4 separate regions of the Homo sapiens genome follow, and regions 1, 3 and 4 are each linked to region 2. The links are contacts of gene promoters, found by promoter capture Hi-C in blood cells and fetal thymus (Javierre and others, 2016). All regions are on one chromosome and are shown on one strand. The core of a region is centred on a gene start or on the middle of the fragment in contact, and the rest is flanking DNA. Distances in the headings are between cores, read along the strand shown. Region 1 holds the start of INSL3 (insulin like 3). Region 2 has its middle 7.5 kb from the start of MVB12A. Region 3 holds the start of MAP1S (microtubule associated protein 1S). Region 4 holds the start of UNC13A (unc-13 homolog A).

What was found. Contacts are between HindIII fragments. The CHiCAGO score rates a contact against its expected background, and 5 or more counts as called.
Region 1: the fragment with the promoter of INSL3 here is called in contact with a fragment that was not itself captured in region 2 in 4 of 17 cell types (M1 macrophages, M2 macrophages, M0 macrophages and 1 more); the score reaches 6.6 in M1 macrophages.
Region 3: a contact is called between the fragment with the promoter of MAP1S here and a fragment that was not itself captured in region 2, in 3 of 17 cell types (megakaryocytes, endothelial precursors and M1 macrophages). The highest score is 5.7, in megakaryocytes.
Region 4: a contact is called between the fragment with the promoter of UNC13A here and a fragment that was not itself captured in region 2, in 2 of 17 cell types (M2 macrophages and M1 macrophages). The highest score is 6.9, in M2 macrophages.

The regions. Positions count from the first base shown.
Region 1 is chr19:17,820,269-17,823,396 of GRCh38, forward strand. INSL3 (insulin like 3) reads right to left here and starts at 1,251. Exons shown (of 2, transcript NM_005543.4): 1 at 1,049-1,251. The coding sequence starts at 1,238. The HindIII fragment of the contact is 12,026 bases long and covers 1-3,128 here.
Region 2 is chr19:17,426,118-17,429,025 of GRCh38, forward strand. No RefSeq gene overlaps it. Among named protein-coding and RNA genes, the nearest start is that of MVB12A, 7.5 kb to the left of the region's middle. The HindIII fragment of the contact is 1,825 bases long and covers 711-2,535 here.
Region 3 is chr19:17,718,077-17,720,862 of GRCh38, forward strand. MAP1S (microtubule associated protein 1S) reads left to right here and starts at 1,404. Exons shown (of 7, transcript NM_018174.6): 1 at 1,404-1,544. The coding sequence starts at 1,427. RefSeq lists a silencer at 1,586-1,635 and enhancers at 1,986-2,055, 2,446-2,595. The HindIII fragment of the contact is 1,227 bases long and covers 1,172-2,398 here.
Region 4 is chr19:17,687,039-17,689,916 of GRCh38, forward strand. It overlaps UNC13A (unc-13 homolog A), which reads right to left and starts at 1,316. Exons shown (of 44, transcript NM_001080421.3): 1 at 1,140-1,316. The coding sequence starts at 1,161. RefSeq lists enhancers at 1-457, 458-1,418 and a silencer at 652-834. The HindIII fragment of the contact is 13,980 bases long and covers 1-2,878 here.

The DNA.
Region 1 (3,128 bases), core at 1-2,500, 390 kb after region 2:
GCGAGGCTATGTCTCAAAATAAATAAATAAAAATAAAATAATAAAATAAAGTAACATAATTGTGAAAAGCAATACTTTTCAAAAGCAATACTTTTAAATACTTTTAAAGCTGGACACAGTGACTCACATCGCTAATCCCAACACTTTGGAAGGTCAAGGTGGGAGGATTACTTGAGCTCAGGAGTTTGAGACCAGCCTGGGAAACAGAGTGAGACTCCCTCTCTACGAAAAAGAAAAAAAAATTAGCTGGGTGTGGTGGCAGCACCTGTATCCCAGCCACTCCAGAGGCTGAGGCAGGAGGATGGTTTGAGCCCAGGAGGTTGAGCCTGCAGTGAGCCGAGATCTCACCACTGCACTCCAGCCTGGGCGTCAGAGTGAGACCCTGTCTCAAAAAACAAACAAACAAAGCAAAATTAAGGCAAAAATTCATGAAGATCAAAATATTGAAATTTTAAGACAGGATCTCACCATGTACTTGCAAGAGCCTACCTCTCCTGCCTCACTCTGTTTCTGGCCCCTCAGGGGGACTCATGCTCTGAGGACTTTCTTTTTTTTTTTTTTTTGAGACGGAGTTTCACTCTGTCGCCCAGGCTGGAGTGCAATGGCATGATATCGGCCCACTGCAACCTCTGCCTTCCGGGTTCAAGCGATTCTCCTGCCTTGGCCTCCCAAGTAGCTGGGATTACAGATGTGCATCATTATCCCCGGCTAATTTTTTTAAAAATTATTTTTAGTAGAGATGGGGTTTCACCATTTTGGCCAGGCTGGTCTCGAACTCCTGACCTCTGGGGATCCACCCGCCTCAGCCTCCCAAAGTGCTGGGATTGCAGGCGTGAGCCACCACGCCTGGCTAACGGCTCTGGGGACTTTCACACGCGCGTTCACACACACTCCAGTGCGGACCCACGATCTGTGCACGCAGCCGGCAGGTGAGCCCTGGGCACATGCATGCAAACCTGCCCACCTCCCTGCACGTGTGCATCTGCGCCTACGTGCACCTGCCCCACCTCGGCTTCCCAGAGCGCTGTCCCTGCCCGTCCCCACTCACGGTCGCCTCCGGTCGCAGGCCTCCTGGCTTCGGTGGACCAGCGGGGGCCCCCGCACACGCGCACTAGCGCGCGTACGAAGTGGTGGCCGCACAACTTCTCACGCATCTCTGGGGTGGGCGCGGGGCCCAACGCGAACACCAGGGCAGGGCCCAGCAGCACCAGCGCCCAGGCGGGCAGACGGGGGTCCATGGTGGTGGGTGGCGCCGGGGCCAAGCGGGGACCCCCTTTATAGGCGCCTGGGCCGTCCCAGCTGGGGGCCTTGGAGAAGGGACAGAACATTCTTCAGGACCGCCCAGGAAAAAGGTCAAGGGTGGGGTTAGTGCCAGAGCCTTTCTCCCAGGGCCAGGGCCTTGGATGTACTTCTCCCAGAGGGAGCACTGGGCAACGAGTCTTTCTTTTTTATTTTTTTCTTCTTTTTTTTTGAGATGGAGTCTCACTCTGTCACCCAGGTTGGAGTGCAGTGACTTGATCTCGGCTCACTGCAACTTCTGACACCCGGGTTCAAGCGATTCTCCTGCCTCAGCCTCCTGAGTAGCTGGGATTACAGGTGCGCACCACTATGCCTGGCTAATTTTTTTTTTTTTATTTTTTATTTTTAGTAGAGACTGGGGTTCGCCATGTTGGCCAGGCTGGTCTCCAACTCCTGACCTCAAGCGATCCATCTGCCTCGGCCTCCCAAAATGCTGGGATTACAGGCATGAGCTGTGCCTGGACTATTATTATTTTTATTATTATTATTGAGACAAAGTCTTGCTCTGTCTTCCAGGCTGGAGTGCAGTGATGCGATCTCGGCTCACTGCAACCTCCACCTCCTGGGTTCAAGTGATTCTCCCACCTCAGCCTCCCAAGTAGCTGGGATTACAGGTGTAAGCCACCACGCCCAGCCACCTATTTTTATTTTTTATTTTTGAGATGAGTTCTTGCTCTGTTACCCTGGCTGGAGTGCAGTGGCACGATATGGGCTCACTGCCACCTCCCTATCCCTGACTCAAGCAATTCTCCCACCTCAGCCTCCTGAGTAGCTGGGACTACAGGCCCACGCCACCACACCCGGCTAATTTTTTGTATTTTTTTTGTAGAGATGGGGTTTTGCCATGTTGCCCAGGCTGGTCTCAAACTCCTGGACTCAAGTCATCTTCCCGCCTCAGCCTCCCAAAGTCCTGGGATCACAGGCGAGAGCGACCACACCAGGGTATTTATTCATTTTTGACATAGGATCTCTCTGGGTTGGCCTGTAATGGCAGGATCATAGCTCACTGTAACCTCATTCCCCTGGGCTCAAGCGATCCTTCAGCCTCTGCCTCCTGAGTAGCTGGGACTACAGGCCTGCAATACAATGCCCAGCTAATTTTTAATTTTTTAATTTTTATTTTTATCTTTTTAGACAGAGTCTTACTCTGTCACCCAGGCTGGAGTACAGTGGTGCGATCTCGACTCACTGCAACCTTTGCTTCCTGGGTTCAAGCGATTCTCCTGCCTCAGCCTCCTGAGTAGCTGGGATTACAGGTGCCCACCACCAAGCCTGGCTAATTTTTGTATTTTTTAGCAGAGACGGGGTTTCACCATGTTGGCCAGGCTGATCTCAAACTCCTGACCTCAAGTGATCCACCCGCCTCGGCCTCCCAAAGTGCTGGGATTACAGGCGTGCACCAACGCGCCCGGCCATTTTTAATTTTTTAATTGTAGAGGCAGGGGTCTTGCTATGTTGCCCAGGCTCATCTAGAACTCAAGTGGTTCTCCCTACTCGGCCTTCCAAAATGCTGGGATTACAGGTGTGAGGCACCACACACGGCCAAGTCTTCGCTATTGTCTTAACCAGTTTAAAGAGATGAAATAGATCAACTGAAAAGTAATAATCCTGCCTTTTCTGGGGGGCAGGGGGGAAGACAGCGGGCATCTTCCAAGACCAGAAATGTTCAGAATTTTGTTGTTTCTATTACTGTACAAATGAGAAAACTGAGGCACACAGGCCAGGTGCAGTGGCTCATGCCTGTAATGCAAGCACTTTGGGAAGATGGGGCAGGTGGATCACTTGAGGTCAAGAGTTCGAGACCAGCCTGCCCAATATGGTGAAACTCT
Region 2 (2,908 bases), core at 373-2,872:
AGTGGCGTGATCTCGGCTCACTGCAAGCTCCACCTCCCAGGTTCACGCCGTTCTCTGGCCTCAGCCTCCTGAGTAGCTGGGACTACAGGCACCCACCACCACGCCCGGCTAATTTTTTATATTTGTGGTAGAGACAGAGTTTCACCGTGCTAGCCAGGATGGTCTCGATCTCCTGAGCTTGTGCTCCACCCTCCTCGGCCTCCCAAAGTGCTGGGATTACAGGTGTAAGCCACAGCGCCCAGGCCTTTTTTTTTTTTCTTTCTTTTTTTTTTTGAGACAGCGCCTCATGCTGTCACCCAGGCTGGGTGAAGTGGCATGATCTCGACTCACTGCAACCTCTGCCTCCCAGATTCAAGTGATTCTCCTGCCTCAGCCGGCACCCCTTGCTGCTGAGTAGCTGGGACTACAGGCTTGGGCCACCATAACCAGCTAATTTGTATTTTGTATTTTTAGTAGAGACAGCGTTTCACCTTGTTGGCCAGGCTGGTCTCAAAGTCCTGACCTCAAGTGATCCCCCGCCTTGGCCTCCCAAAGTGCTAGGATTACAGGTGTGAGCCACTGCGCCCGGCCCAGGCCACACCATTTTCATCCACCAATTCATACAACCTTGTTTTATGTACATTTGTTTAAAAACACCTTATTTAATATCTATGGTGGATTCATTTACATTGAACTCACAGCCAACAGCACCGAAACTCACGTCTGCATAAAGCTTCTCTATAATGGATTTTCTCCATGAGGTGCATCACAGACTTTTTTTTTTTTAAGTATTTTATTTTTGGCATGATCATAGCTCACTGCAGCCTTGACCTCCCGGGCTCAGGTGATCCTCCAATCTCAGCCTCCTGAGTAGCTGGGACTACAGGCTACACTGGGCTAATTTAAAATTTTTTTTGTACTGATGGGGGTCTCACTATATTGCCCAGGCTGGTCTTGAACTCCTGGCCTTGGGCAGTCCTCCTGCCTCGGCTCCCAATGTGCTGGGATTACAGGCATGAGCCGCCGAGCCCAGCCATTGCAGCCTTTTGGTACTTAGGAAGCCTGGACAGCATTTCGGTGTCTGGGGGAATTTCAATGGCAAAATCACCAACAAAAACCACAAGAACATGGCCAGGCACAGTGGCTCATGCTTGTAATCCCAGCACTTTGGGAGGCCGAGGTGGGTGGATCACCTGAGGTCAGGAGTTCGAGACCAGCCTGGCCAACATAGTGAAACCCCATCTCTACCAAAAATACAGAATTAGCCAGGCTTGGTGGCAGGTGCCTGTTATCCCAGCTACTTGGGACACTGAGGCAGCAGAATCGCTTGAACCCTGGTGGGTGGAGGTTGCAGTGAGCTGAGATTGTGCCACTGCACTCCAGGCTGTGCAACAAGAGTGAAACTCCATTTCAAAAAAAAAAAAAAAAAAAAGAGAAGAAATTCACCACCCTAAACTCACACCTTCCTTCTCCCATAAGTGCATGCCCATGGACGTGTACGATGGCTGCTATGCTGCTGTTTCTCCTCTGGGCTGTTGTAGTCTTGTGGTGGCCCACATTCTGCTGCAGTTGGAAACATCCCCAGATCTCTGTGGTTTAGAAAAGCTGGCCAGGCATGATGGCTGATACCTGTAATCCCAGCACTTTGGGAGGCCGAGGCAGGCAGATCACCTGAGGTCAGGAGTTCGAGACCAGCCTGGCCAACGTAGTGAAACCCTGTTTCTACTAAAAATATAAAAATTAGCTGCGTGTGGTGGCACACGCCTGTAATCCTAGCTGCTTGGGAGGCTGAGGCAGGAGAATCGCTTGAACCCGGGAGGTCAAGGTTGCAGTGAGCCAAGATTGCACCATTGCACTCCAGCTTTGGCAACAAGAGTGAAACTCCATCTCAAAAAGAAAAAGAAGAACTAAGGCTGTCATACTTGGAGTCTCACATCTGTAATCCCAGCACTTTTGGGGGCTGAGGCACGAGGATCGCTTGAGGCCAGGAGGTCGAGGCTGCAGTTTGCTATGATTGCGCCACTGCACTCCAGCCTGTGTGACAGAGTGAGACCCTGTCTCTAAATAAATAAATAAGTAAGGCAGGGCACGGTGTCTCACGCCTGTAATCCCAGCACTTTGGGAGGCCGAGGCGGACGGATCACCTGAGGTCGGGAGTTCAAGACCAGCCTGACCAACATGGAGAAACCCCCGTCTCTACTAAAAATGCAAAATTAGCGGGGCGTGGTGGCGCATGCCTGTAATCCCAGCTATTCAGGAGGCTGAGGCAGGAGAATCGCTTGAACCCAGGAGGCAGAGGTTGTGGTGAGCCAAGATCGCACCATTGCACTCCAGCCTTGGCAACAAGAGCGAAACTCTGTCTGCAAAAAAAAAAAAAAAAAAACAGCCTGGGTGCAGAGCAAAACCCTATCTCTAAGTAAATGAATAAATAAATAGCAAAGCTAAGGCTTATTTCTTAGCGGCAATAGACTTTGTTAGTTGTAGTGGTACAGAAACTGGCCTAATGGGAGGGTCATTTTCTCACAGTGAGGACGGTGTTGTCTAAAGAAACATCCAAGCTTTTAAATAATTAAAGTTGGCCAGCCATGGTGGCTCACGCCTGTAATGCCAGCACTATCGGAGGCTGAGGCGAGAGGATCACTTGAGCCCCCGGGAGTTTGAGACCAGCCTGGGCAACACAGCAAGGCCCTGTCTGTACAAATTAAAAATTAGCCGGGCATAGTGATACCTGCCTGTGTAGTCCCTGCTACTCGAGAGGCTGAGGTGGGAGGATCGCCTGAGTCTGGGAGGTGAAGGCTGCAGTGAGCTATGATTGCATAACTGCACTCCTGGCTGGGTGACAGAGCAAGACCCTGTCTCAAAAAAAAAGAAAAAAAAAATTTGGGACTGGGTGCAGCGGTGGCTCACACCTGTAATCCCAGCACTTTGG
Region 3 (2,786 bases), core at 154-2,653, 290 kb after region 2:
TACAAAAAATTAGCTGGGCACAGTGGCGGGCGCCTGTAGTCCCAGCTACTCGGGAGGCTGAGGCAGGAGAATGGCATGAACCTGGGAGGTGGAGCTTGCAGTGAGCCGAGATCGCGCCACTACCCTTCAGCCTGGGCGACAGAGCGAGACTCTGTCTCTAAAAGAAAAGAAAAGAAAAGAAAAGAAAAGAAAAGAAAAGAAAAGAAAAGAAAAGAAACCTCATCTCTACTAAAATACAAAAATTAGCAGGGCATGGTGGCGGACACCTATAATCCCGCTACTTGGGAGGCTGAGGCAAGGGAATCGCTTGAACCCGGGAGGCAGAGGTTGCAGTGAGCTGAGATTGTGCCATTGCACTCCAGCCTGGGCGGCAGAATGAGACTCCATCTCAAGAAAAGGAAAGGAGAGGAGAGGAGAGGGGAGAGGAGGGGAGGGGAGGGGAGGGAGAGGAAGGGAGGGGAGGGGAGGAGAGGAGAGGAGAGGGGAGAGAAGGGGAGGGGAGGGGAGAAGAGGAGAGGAGGGGAGGGGAGGAGAGGAGAAGAGAGGGGAGGAAAGGAAAGAAAAGCCTAAAGAGGATTATCTGGGGAGAGAGAGGTACCCATGTGCGCAACGCAGGCAGTCCCTTGCACAGGCTGGATCTAGAGTAAGACCCACTTGGGTTCAAACCTGCTCTACCACTTACAGGCCTGGTGACTTCATCCCTCCAAATCTCAGTTTCCTCTTCTTTCCTCTGAAAGTGACCACAGTAACTGTGCCTACTCATCTGTGCCTACATACAAGCACAAAACTCATCGCTTTGTGCTTGTATGTAATGAGCTAATGCAATAAAATACCTGGCGCACAGGAGGTGCAGAATAAGTGTTGCCCTGTTCCAGGCAGGCCCAGAGTGCTCCGGTTGTGTCCCAAACACACATGTACTTTCTTACCTCTAAAACTTTGCACCTGCTGTAAACTTCTGCCTCACCAGCTCTTGCCCCACCACCCACAAGGCAAACTCCTACACATCCCTTAAAGCCCTACCTACAAGATAGATTTCTTTTCTCTGTTCAAGCCCTGACCTAGAGAGCTGGGAGCATCCATAGGCACCGGGTTCTGATGCGGCCTACTGTCATGTGATGTGAGTTCCTGGAGGGCAGGAGTTCTGACCTACATGCAGCAGGCACGCAATCAAAGCTTGTTCAATGAAAAAAAAAATGAATGAATGGTCACTTGGGAGAGGCGGCTCCCAAGCGGACACCCAGGAGTCGGCCAACCCCTTTAACGCCCGCATCCCCTGCTCTCCACGACCTCAAAGGGCCTGTAAGTGGTCGACAAAAAGGGGCGGGGATGCGGTGGTTCCGGGCGGGGTCTTCAGCCCTTCCGGTGCGGCCCCTTTAAGAGGCGGGGCCTGCGGGGCGGGCGCCGAGAACGCCGGGGCGGCCCGAAGATGGCGGCGGTGGCTGGATCTGGGGCTGCCGCGGCTCCGAGCTCACTGCTCCTCGTGGTGGGCAGCGAGTTCGGGAGCCCGGGGCTCCTCACCTACGTCCTGGAGGAGCTCGAAAGAGGTCGGGCTGGCCTGGGGGCCCGCGGGAGCCCGGGAGGCGGGCCCGTTCGCGCGTCTGGGCCCGGGGCCGGCGGGGTGGGGCGGCGGCGGCGGCGGCGGCGGGACCCGGGCTCCGGGGCGGGGGTCGCGGGCCTGGGGCTGGGTCCCCTTCACCGTTAGGCGCACGACGCGGGCAAAGGCGGGGTGCCCGTGGGTGCCCGCGGAGAAAGTGGCATCCGGGCCTGGGCTGGGCAGGGCTGCCCCGCCCCAACTCCGGGTGAAGATAGGGGAGGGGACACGGGCCTGGGCTTGGGGACCCTTGCAGTTGGACCACGGCTCCGCTTCCCGCCTGACTGGCCTGCCCGGGGGTAGGGCCTGGGGTCGCTTTGGATCTCCAGGTCTTAGCAGCTTAGATAGAGATCTCCCGGAGGGAGAAGCAGATATGGGGGAGGCTGGGCCTGGAGCCCCGGGGCCCGCTTTCTGTTGCCTCACAAGGAGCTGCTAATTGGGGTGTGGGCGGGTGCGGCCTGCCCTGGGGATTTGGCACCTAGGGAGGTGAGTCATAGGCGCACCTGCCAGGTTCACCTGCAGCCACTTGGCTCAGTGGGACTGGCGGGCGTGATGCGCCCGTGGGTGGAGATGGGTGTTCATCCCCCATCCCTCGGAGCATCTGGACCTGGCGTTTCATTGCATGTAAAATGGGACAGGAACACGCACCTCGGTTCATGTGCTTGAGGAGTGTTTAGTGAGCACCTGCTATGCGCCAGGCCTTTGGGCAGTGGACACAGGGATATGGCCGGGATGATAGACAGGTTCAGCCCTGCCAACACAGGTCTGGTTTGGGGATGGACCCAAAGCGAGTGAGGAGATGGAACAAGCTTCCAGCTCACATGGTGTCAGGAAGGATGAGAAGGCTGCAAGGGACTGAGAGGACAGTCAGTCTTAGCACCCGAAGGTGCTGAGGGGGAAGGGCCCCCTGGCCAGTAGGAACAGGTGGGGGCGGCAGGGGGATGGACTTCCAGGCAGGGGAAACAGCTGTTGCAAGGGCGGTGAGTGGAAACGGGTCTGGCAGGGCATAGGAGCAGCGAGGAGGTGGAGATGGAGGAGGTGGAGGCTTTGTTGCTGATGAATCTTGTGTGTAAAATGATGAGGTGTGCTCTGGGTCCCCTGGCTCAGCTGCAGCGAGACCTGAAGGTGTTGGGTACTTCTGAGTCTCCAAGCTGTGAGTGAAGGGAGGAGGCTGGGGCGCTCCCCACCCACGGGG
Region 4 (2,878 bases), core at 66-2,565, 260 kb after region 2:
GGGGTTCAGAGCTCTGTAGGCGTGGAACGGCGGTCCACATCCACCCCTGCCGCCCAAGGTCTCCCAGAGTTTGATTTCTCAAACGGGAGTGCCCAGAACGCCTGGGTTCGGTTGGGCTGGCTTCCCCACGACCCCAGAGCCATAAAGGTGTGGGGTGGGGGGTCATGCCCCTCCCACGTCTCCCTCCCTCCTCCAACCCCAACGCAGAGCGTGGGCCTGGGCGTGGGCCTCTGTGCAGATGGCGTTCTGGCCCCAAAATAGCTCCCCCCCCACCTCACGTCTCCCTCCCTCCCTCTCTCCAGTGCAAAGTGGGTGAGGTGAGGATGGGCCAGGAGGGGGACCAGGAGACATTGCTCTTCCAAGAAGTAGGCTCCCTGCCGAGAAGGCCCTGAAACGTGTTTGGGAGAACCGGAGGGGGCAGGGAGCGGGAAGACCTTCTGGACATTCCTCCAACCCCCTCACTCGGGAGGCCAAAGAGTTAACTGGAAAAGCGCCCCCAGACCTCCAGTCACAGCCCTCTCTGGACGCTGGGAGGGGTCTCCTGTCTCCACACTCCCCCCACTCCAGTCCTCTTTACACCTAGGGCTGGGAGAGTCCTAGAACTCGTGGATGCCCTGATGGCCAAGCCCCTCTACCTATATCTTACATCCCCACGGCTTGGAGAACCCTCCCACCGCACTCTCCTTCGAATTTCCAGCCGGGTCCGCGTCCATGAGGACCCGTAACCCAGCCCACAACACCAGACCCCTTCCAAGCACCCCTGCAGGCTTCAATCAAACTACCGAGCCCAGACTCTTCCTCACTGACCCTCTAAAAACCTGGTCTACACAGACGCCCCAGTCTAGATCGTTTCCGGGTAGAACCCCGGATACCCGTCCACGTCCACACGGGCCTCCGCGTTCAGCCGCGTCCACACGACCCCTCCAGCAGCGGCCACCAGGACCCCCGAGAGCCCTGCCGCGTCTACACGGATCACCCCCTCCGGGGCCCAGCTGCGTCGACAAGGGCTACCCCTCTCAAAAGTCCAGCCACCTGGACTCGGGTCACCCCCCAGGAACCCCCTGGGAGCCGCATCCACGCGGACCCCGACCCCAGCCCGCGTCCACACGGGTCCCCCGACCCCCAGCCTCGCCTCCTACCTCCAACGCAAAGCAGAGACATGTCTCCGAGCTCGCAGGTGGGCCGGAGGCGGCCGGGCCGGCTCTGTCGGGTCGGGCTCAGCGGCCGCTGGGCTGGGGCATCTCCCGGCTGCAGCCCGCGCTTGGCTCACGCCGGGGCCCGGCCGCCACCGGCCATCTTGGTTCAGCACCGGGGGCGCGGACAGCGCCTGACGTGGCGCTGATGCGGGGCGGGCAGGCGGAGCCCAGGGACGCCTGATGGGGCGGGGGCGCTGCGGGCTGGGGGGGCGTTAAAGGGCCTGGCTCCGGGAAGGGGCGCCTCGCCCCACACCTCCTCGTTGCAGGGGGACAAGGGGCGACGGCGGCCCCCAAGCAGGTTTCCTCCTGTGCAGACCCTCACCTGCACTGAAATGGTGCACGTGCCCCCGCCACCCATGCATGGACATTCCTGCCCTGGTAACCTGGGCAAACGCCTCCCTGCAATACTCAAGCAAGTACAGGCAAATGCAAGCTCTTGTGTGTACGCCCGGCACCAGCACCGGGCAGATGGTCCTGTTCTCTGAGTATCTCTCTTCCTCTGTCTCTACGTCTCTGTCTCTCTAACTCTACTGCCTGGTCTCTTTCTCTCCCTGGGTCTCTGTTCCTCTGACTCTGTCCACTGCTCTCTCAGTCATGTGTCTCTTAGCCTCTCTCTGTAAAGTCTTTTTGCAGCTCTACTGCATCCTGTCTAGGTCTCTCTCTATGTCTCTAAGCCATCCAGCCCATGGGTCCTTGCCCACACTCTGAACTCCTTTTCATCCATCAATGTCTTGTCTGAATATCCTCTCCTCCAGGAAGGCTTCCCTGACTGCCCCAAGCTGAGCCTTTGTTTCTCCTCTCTGGACTCCCCCAGCCCCTATCCCTTCCTCTGATTGGGCCCTGACCCGAACGAAACTCTGCCACTCCTCCCCACTTTTCTTTTTTTTAGATGGAGTCTCCCTCTGCAGCCCAGGCTGGAATGCAGTGACGCAATCTTGGCTCACTGCAACCTCTGCCTCCTGGGATCAAGAGATTCTCCTGCCTCAGCCTCCCCGAGTAGCTGGGACTACAGGCGCATGCCACCATGCCCAGCTTTTTTTTTTTATTTTATTTTTTTTATTTTTAGTAGAGACGAGGTTTCACCATGTTGGCCAGCCTGGTCTTGAACACTTGACCTCAGGGGATCCGCCCATCTCGGCCTCCCAAAGTGCTGGGATTCAGACCTGAGCCACTGCGCCTGGCCCCCTCCCCACATATCAAACTGGGCAGCTCCATGTGGGCCCCTTGCCCTGCAACCTGCTCGCTGTATCACTGGCACCTAAACTAGCATGAAAGGCTGAGCCCCACAGGGTCTCCTGCCCCCAGCCCACATGAAAGAGCTTCATAAATGCAGAATGTGCATGGAGTTGAGTGAGGCCATTGTTCAAAACCAAACTCTGTCTCTCATCACAAGCATGGCCTTGGGCAGGTCTTGTGACCTCCTCGTGCCTCAGTTTCCGCACCTGTAGAATGAATATGATAACAAGTCCTGCCTCACAAGGTTGCTGGAGGTATTACATGAGTTAACATGTGAAACCAGTTGTAATTTTTTTTTTTTTGGAGGTGTAGTCTCAATCTGTGGCCCAGGCTGGAGTGCAGTGGCACCATCTCAGTTCACTGCAACCTCAACCTCCAAGTGATCTTCCTGCCTCAGCCTCCTGAGTAGCTGGGATTACAGGCGCTCGCCACCACATCCAGCTAAT